Linked DNA regions of Homo sapiens: all the other regions are linked to region 1. The links are contacts of gene promoters, found by promoter capture Hi-C in blood cells and fetal thymus (Javierre and others, 2016). All regions are on one chromosome and are shown on one strand. The core of a region is centred on a gene start or on the middle of the fragment in contact, and the rest is flanking DNA. Distances in the headings are between cores, read along the strand shown. Region 1 holds the start of MBIP (MAP3K12 binding inhibitory protein 1). Region 2 overlaps G2E3 (G2/M-phase specific E3 ubiquitin protein ligase). Region 3 overlaps FANCM (FA complementation group M).

Region 1 (2,700 bases), core at 22-2,521:
CAAACAACTGAATTTAAAAGTTATATCTTTAAGCAGACTCCATTAATAACTGCGTCATTTCATAAAACCGTTTAACTTACAGTAATGTTCTTTGTAAGACACAACATACTACGATTTTTAAAAATAGTAACTTCTTAAAAGACTGATTCTCCATCTACTCAAGGCTTTAAAAATAATTTTCACAAATCAGACAAATGTTCTATTTTCATAGGAATTTACCATTATCTTTGACACAAATGCCTGCTTTGTCCACTTGCGCTAGTACCAGCCCCAAAACAAACTTTTACGGCTAGAAAATGGTCTATGTAAGATAGAAAATATTTCCTTTTAAAAGGCAGGTAAACAAGCATACTTTTAAATTGTTTCTCATTTAAAACTTGAATTTTACACCATGAAACGAAACAGTGACTTGATCGAAGAAGCCCATTTCAATTTAAAACCAATTTTACTATGACATTTCTGCAAAAGCGATTTATCAGCCAGTTAAACTAGTTAATAGTTAAATAACGACAGTTCTAACGCCAACAGCATTTTACGCTAGAAGTATTTTAAATGAATTCCTTTTACTTTTCTCCCCATTTGAAAGGATTATAGATGCGCAAAACAGCCCGAAGGAAAAAAGAAATAAACAAAACCAAGTAACTCATAAGAACAAATTACTCCCTCCCCCACCAAAAAAAGCTAATAAGCGCGCGCTTTTCTATAAATCTCAGGCCTACTGACCAACCAATTCCCATAAAGAGTAAGTTGGAGGAAAAAGGACCCTGAACGCTAAGCGCCTCCTAAACTCGCAGTGAAGCTTTTCCACATTCATTCTCTCCAAGCCTGCCTCTCTCGGAGCCGGGTTTTCACTTAGGCCAACCTCACCCACTCTTGGGGAGGACAGCTGCAAGGTAAACGACTCTGCAACCGGTACCGCCGTCCTCCTCACTCCGACCGAGGAGGCTGGGCCCGGGCTCCTTCCACACCTCGGCTTCGGGACCGCATCCCACACCTCTGCAGGCCTAGCTGCCCCCGGCCTCTGCTAGAGAAAAAGAATGGCGAGGAGGGACCGGATGGTTTCCATATTCCCAGTCCCTCAGGCCACCTCTCACCTGTCCAACCAGGGTGTGTAGGGAGCGAAAGATTTCGTAGAGCACCTCTCGGGAGAGGTTGGGTCTGCATCTTCGCTCCAGGTTCCTGTCACCGCTGCTCGGGCGATTAAGCTCCGTGGCAGCAGCCATGATATCTTCTCAGGCCGCCCCACCACCACCACCACCAAGATTTGCTCACAACCCCGCCCCCTCCCTTCCAGCTTTAGTCGCTTGGCGATGACGTAAGACACGGAGTCTGGTTTAGATCGGGCTTTGAGGCCCCACCCTCTCTATGTGAATGACAAGCACGTTACACCAATCAGTTGCAGCTGTGACATTGCGCCGAGGCTCTGAAGTGGGTAATTGCAGACCACAGCTAGGCTGGAATGCTGTGTTTGGGGTGGTCATTAGAGTCGTGGTCTCTTTAGCGTTATGAAGCCTACCTTGACTCCTAGGTGTTCATTGTGAATCTTGGTAAGAGGAGACATAGTTAAATTTTGTAGTTTGAGTCCAAAAAGTAAAAGTTGACATTTTAACATGGCGGTGTGGAGTGGGTCTGGAGGAAGCTTGCTGGTCAGGGATGGAGTGGTGCCCACACGTGTTTCTAAACATTGGAAAACTCACACGGAATTATCATGATTGGATAGAACATTTTCATCTCTTCAAGTTTGTTGTTGTTGTTTTGGAGACAGAGTCTCACTCTGTCGCCCAGACTGGAGTGCAGTGGCACTACCTCGGCTCACTGCAACCTCCGCCTCCCAGGTTCAAGCGGTTCTCCTGCCTCAGCCTCCTGAGTAACTGGGACTACAGTTGATATTCTCTGTTTTAACTGTAGAGACGCTTAACCCTAAAATTGTTTCAAAGAAATGAAACACTGTCAATATAATTCCAACAGGAATTTAACCTGGATAAATAATATCATGCAACCACAATCTTTGAAATTAGGACATAAAACCGAATTCAAATTTTACAAAGTATTATTTATCATAATAGCTTTATTATAACGATGTTTGTGGGGTTTTGTAATCTTTTAGTCAGACTCCGATATTTTTAAAAAGTGTTATCCAATTAAAGTATTACAATAATTTTTAGTGTTAAGCTTTATTCAAAAACACTTTAAGAAATCAACATCAGCTTAGAGATAAGGAAGGTGGGATTTAAAACTCGTAATTCTGTTAATAGTCTAATGCATTTACAGTAGAGAAAGCAAAGGTGGAAACTTGCACAATGTGTATTCTTTAGTTTTAGGGTAGACTAAATTAAAGGGAAGGACTAATGCATCAAGGAACTAAGATAAGGACGATGGGGATAAAAACTCCTTTGACCTGTCCCTAGGGAGTCTCTTAATTAGGCTTTCATTTCCAAAGACAAATGGGATCACCAGGCTTGACAGAATCTTGGGAAATCTTTTCTGTTCCCTTGTTGGCAGCAAGATATACAACTGACATTCCAGCCTATTTCTACAGGCAGAAAAATACTTCACAATGTCCAGTCTCAAATTGAGCAACCTTCTTATTCAAGCATGGTAATGGGGTAACTGTAAGTTTTTGTTTTGTACCAAATTAGCAATCAGTTTCAGATCATTTGTTTTCATTGAGGTGTTTCATATTTTTTCAAATATGGAGAA
Region 2 (2,700 bases), core at 159-2,658, 5.7 Mb before region 1:
TTGTTGTTGTTGTTGTTTGTATCCTATGTTTGGTATTCTGTATGTCTGATCCATAATCATTTTAGATATTTGAATGATCTCTGTGGATTGGTAGGTTTGGCCATTTGACCATTATTTATTATCAAGTTGGTTGTATGCTAAGGTAAGTTGACGCCATAGCATTATACAGTTATCTTCATTGCTCTTGAATGATATCTGTTATATAAGCAATGTATAAATAAAGTAAAAAGGATAGAATGAAAAACCCATTCTAATGTCACCACTCAGAGATAAGTACCGTATTTCTGTGTATCCTTCTATAAACTCTTTACTTCTGTTTCCTTTATTTTTTAACTTTAATAATGCTACTAAAAGACAATACCTAAAAGTAACTGTACTAACAAAGTGCTAACAATGTGAAAATATATAGTCCCATAGTCATGTCCCCATATTTATACTCCCACAGAAGAAAAAATTGGAAAACAAAGTCTGATGTCCTTAATCTATTAACATATTTAAATGATATAATGGTTCAGTTTTCCATGAAAGTAAATCATTATGGGAAGTAAAATGTTTTAACCATATTTTTCTTAATACACAAAGCAGGTGTCAGCTGTTGTATTCTCACCCTTCTTAAGAAAAATCATTACATTATTGATATTTTTTAAGTAACAGAATAGATTTGAAAGAGATAATATATCTCTTAATACCAAAGGAAAACTAAAACATAATTCTAGTGTACTTTTCTTTGTTCCCTCATGTCTTTTTCAATCTGTACACTAACATACCTAGCAAATTTGTTTTACTTTAACTTGAAATATTTAAGAACATTAAACAAGACATTTCTTTGGCTTTGGTTGAATTTTTTTGTCTCACCAATAGTAATTGAAAGATCAATTATCAAAGAGTTTGAATAGCTAATATAAACCCCAAAGTCACCATACAGTTTTTATTCCAAATATGTTGATAAAAAGATATTTGTTTCTTTATCCACCTTATTTTTATTACAGCTAAAAACCAATACAAACCAATAAAACCTAGTTAAAGCTATTTTCTGGTTTTTAGTTGCAATTAATTTCCCCTAGGGTAGAAATTAAAGCTGATTAAGTCACACACACATACTTTGTTGGGGTGGGGGTGGCAGGTGGAGAGGCAGTGTACTTGGGTTAGCTACAATTAAAAACAGTATTTCAATTCCTCATTTGACTTATTTTATATATAGACAGGGCCTTAGTGATAAGATGGTGTAAATAATTTAGGATATTCATGTTTTAAAGTGAAGCATAAATATTTATTTTGCAAAATGTTTTCTAGTTTGAAGGATGTTCCATTATTACCATTTTTAGATTAATCTGTATGGTCAAGGAATATCAGAGAAACCTGTAGGTTATTTATTTTCTGCAGTGTCATTTTGTCAAATGGTTGGTATTATAATTGTTCTTTTCTTATTAATTTTATAACCAGTGCATAATTCTTACATTAGATTTTAAAAAAGAATTATGCTATAAATCTTTATAAATGTGTACATATATTTCTTAAATATTGCAATTGCCTAAATGTTGTATATTTTAAGGCTGTTTTCTCTTGCTCTTAATGTTGAGGAAAACTATAAATTGATCTATAATGCATCTACTGTTAATGGTTTTGGTTAGTTTGATATTCATTGTTTTTAAACACTTTCCAATATGGAAACTTTAACACCTTTTATACAATTCTCTACTATTCAAGATATTCTTTAAAATATCTCACCAGAAACTTACAATTTTATACTTTGTAATTTTTAGTTTCTGTAATTTGAGGAAGTGACTTTTTTTGTTTGGGTTAAGTAAAAAGCCTTTGATTGATTACCAGCATGAGAATTCACCTTGGTTTCTATTTTATGCATTTGTAAATTTTTCCCCTAATTATATGGAAGCTATTGGAACTTTTGTATTCAGTGCTAAATACTAAGTCAAGGGGAGTATATTAGGTAAGTTTTTTCAGTGACTGTGCCTTTAGCATTCAGTCATTATAAGAAAATGATCAGAACAAAATCATTACATTATAAACATGTAATTCTTTTATATAGTGATTATCATGTACTGCATTGTTACTTTAAAATAAGCTATTAAACTAGTTTTTATGGTTCAAGTAATGCAATACAAAGTTTCATGCTTCAAGTAATGCAATACAAAACATAACCCATTTAATGATGAATTACTTGAATGTATATTATCTGTGGTTTAGGAAAATTTGGATTGTCTTGAAGAGACTCAGTTTTCAAGTTCTGATTTTGACCATTATCTCTTCTAATTCATAAACATATCCCAGTACCTACACTATGCCAGGTATTATGCTAGGTGATCGTTTATATGTCAGCCTATTTCCCCCCCTTTTAAAGACTGCCAGATTAACCAAAAAGCGTGACATTTATAACAATGTTTTATAAATAAATAAATGTGTTTATGCCACTAAAGGTAAACTGCCTATTTAAACTAAGTAATTTTTTGGGATTTAATAAGATTAAGATTCTGACGAAACTGAAAGATACAAGATTCCTTTACTCTCCACATTTGAGAGATCCTATAAGCAAGCAGTTAGTGTCTGACACCCAGGAACCTATAGAAATGAGGGAATCTGTGTTAAAACTATGTATCCTCTAATGTAAAATAGCTTACCAGAATAAATTATTTAAGCCAAAAATCTGGACTCAGATAAATGGCTATAGTAAATTAGGTTAAT
Region 3 (2,700 bases), core at 200-2,699, 8.8 Mb after region 1:
CTTTTTTGTTACTTAATGATATAAATTTCTGGTGCTTCTTTCAAAATTTTACTGCTATTTTATTTCTGTTAGTGACTTAAACTAAAAAATTTTAACATGTAGTTTATAATCATACTTAATTGATTTCATATAGGCTGTGCAACAAGTTATTACTAACCTGCTAATTGGGCAGATAGAGCTTCGTTCTGAAGATTCTCCAGATATTTTGACATATTCTCATGAAAGAAAAGTTGAAAAGCTTATTGTTCCGCTTGGTGAAGAACTTGCAGCCATCCAAAAGACCTATATCCAGGTAAACCATTTTTATGACATTTAGGGATTTCATAAATAAACTGGTAATTGAATTATTTCAGCTAACAGGATTTGGATGTGATAATATAGTTATCTTATTTTTATATAATTGATATGTTGAAAAAATTCTTTGAAGTTAAAATTTTTGGAATGAGCACTGTGTTTTGTATGTACTAGCAAACTGTTATTGAAAGGGAAAATACAAAAGATGGGCCATTTGTAAAGCAAATAATAGCCTTACATGGTTTTGTATTTTTTTAAGTAAACCTTATAACTGGAATATAGAACATGCACACACACACACACACACACACAAACAGCAAAAGTAGACAAAGCATAAGTGTATTGCTCAGTGAATTTTCACAAATTGCACACACCCGTAACATGAACACGTACTGAGATTCAGCCAGAAGTTTCTTTGTTTTCTTTTTGTTGTTTTTTGTTCAGCTCACTGCAGCTTCCACCTCCCTGGTTCAAGCAGTTCTCCTTAGCCTCCCAAGTAGCTGGGATTACAGGCACATGCTACCACATCTGGCTAATTTTTATATTTTTGAATAGAGACGAGGTTTCACCTTGTTGGCCAAGCTGGTCTTGAACTCCTGACCTCAAGTGATTTTCCTGCCCCGACCTCCCAAAGTGCTGGGATTACAGGTGTAAGCCACCATGCGCCCGGCCCCCAGAAGTTTCTTTGTATTGAAATATATTTTCACTGTTGTCCTCCCTGATCTTTATGCAGCAGTGCTTTTCATCTGGAAATTACTTCACCTACCTGGCAACATTTGGCAATGACTTGACACATTTTTGGTTCTTACAACAACAACAACAACAACAAAAAGGCAGGAGAGAAGGGGGAGGTAACAGGTGAAATGTGGAGTTATTATTGGCATCTAGTATATGGAGGCCAGGAATCAGCTAAACATCCTACAATGGATAGGACAGCAACCCCACAACAAAGAATTATCTGGCTCAAATGTCAATATTATAGCTGTTAAGGACCTGCTTAGACAATTGTCATTTTCACTGGGAGAAATTTGTGGTAACACATTGTTTTTCTGTAGTTCATAATTAGTGTCATGGTTGAACAACATGGTTTCACATTTTCATTGCCATGGATTAAAGATGGTTACAGAAATAGATAACCAAAAAGTTATCTGTCACTTAATCTATAGTAAGCCTTTCTTAAAGAGACATTTTGTAGTAATACAGCTTTTTTGTTTTTAAATTGTTTGTAACAAAATTCTAAGCATTATTGAGTTAAGATATGGCAAAGTCTTTTTGTAATTGTCTCTTTGATACTAGTGCATTTTTAATTGAAAATCATTCCATTTATAACAATGTAAATATGATAATTCTTATAATCATATACAAATGTAATTTAATTTTGTTAGTATTTTTAGAGTGCCTTATTAGGCAGTATGATCAGCAAAGTTGGAAGGGAGGAAAAAAAATGTATTAAACTAGCCATAATTTAGAAAATACAAATTAGGCAAAAATTTAAACACTTACATACTGCGGTAGTAGGTCTTCATCTATAGGTCTCCTTTTGTGCCATTAAGCTCATTTCCGCCTCAGGACTTTTTGTTTGCTGTCTCCTCTCTCTGGAATCCTTTGTCCTTAGAACCTCACATGGTAGACATACCTTATCATTCACATGTGAACTCAAATGTTCTCTTCTCAAAGAGAGTCTTTGTTCACCTTATTTAATAATGATCCCTTTCCTCTCAAAGACTCTACAGCATTATTGTGTTTTAGATTCTTAAATGCATTTGTTATAATGAAAATGATCTACTTTCTTTGTTCGCTTCTTTATTCTTCGGTTCCCTCCATTGGAATGTAAACTATATGAGAGCAGTGACAAATAAAGTCTTAGCCACACTATCCCCAGCATTTAGAACAGTGCCTGTTACATAGTAGATGGTTAATAAATATTTGTTGAAAAAAATGCATCAGTGAGTAAAATTAAATATATTCAGGACATTTCAATTTATTCAGTACTTTACAAACTACTCTACAAATATCTGCTGAGGACCTAAGTGCCAAACTGGTCTAGATACTGAGGATGTAACAGTGCAGAAATCAAAGGTCTTCGTTCATGGTACTTACACTTAGATTATAGTGTGTGTAGGTTGAGAGAGAGAGGAGTTAAGAAATAAACAGATAAACGAATGTGTTGTTAAATTACAGTTGTATATAATAATTGCTTATGTTGATTTTTATATGGATATTATTTGGGGATAGATGTCAAGTAGTTTTAAATGTTATCATTGCTGAGTTTACTTAAACATTCATTGTAAGACAAACTTTATTAAATATATAATTCCTATTTTAATATGTGAGAAAATGATTGTACTTGAAAAAGGACTTTAGAGCAAGCTTAAACTAGATTGCTTTTAAATTTGCAGATTTTGG

What was found. Contacts are between HindIII fragments. The CHiCAGO score rates a contact against its expected background, and 5 or more counts as called.
Region 2: a contact is called between a fragment that was not itself captured here and the fragment with the promoter of MBIP in region 1, in 4 of 17 cell types (total CD4 T cells, total CD8 T cells, non-activated CD4 T cells and 1 more). The highest score is 14.0, in total CD4 T cells.
Region 3: a fragment that was not itself captured here is called in contact with the fragment with the promoter of MBIP in region 1 in 1 of 17 cell types (naive CD8 T cells); the score reaches 5.2 in naive CD8 T cells.

What each region holds. Positions count from the first base shown.
Region 1 is chr14:36,319,366-36,322,065 of GRCh38, forward strand. MBIP (MAP3K12 binding inhibitory protein 1) reads right to left here and starts at 1,272. Exons shown (of 9, transcript NM_016586.3): 1 at 1,095-1,272. The coding sequence starts at 1,223. RefSeq lists enhancers at 961-1,220, 1,621-1,670. The HindIII fragment of the contact is 840 bases long and covers 798-1,637 here.
Region 2 is chr14:30,617,404-30,620,103 of GRCh38, forward strand. G2E3 (G2/M-phase specific E3 ubiquitin protein ligase) reads left to right here. Exons shown (of 15, transcript NM_017769.5): 15 at 1-2,661. Among named protein-coding and RNA genes, the nearest start is that of SCFD1, 3.6 kb to the right of the region's middle. The HindIII fragment of the contact is 4,510 bases long and covers 1-2,700 here.
Region 3 is chr14:45,148,704-45,151,403 of GRCh38, forward strand. FANCM (FA complementation group M) reads left to right here. Exons shown (of 23, transcript NM_020937.4): 4 at 134-292; 5 at 2,694-2,700. Among named protein-coding and RNA genes, the nearest start is that of FANCM, 14 kb to the left of the region's middle. The HindIII fragment of the contact is 2,426 bases long and covers 237-2,662 here.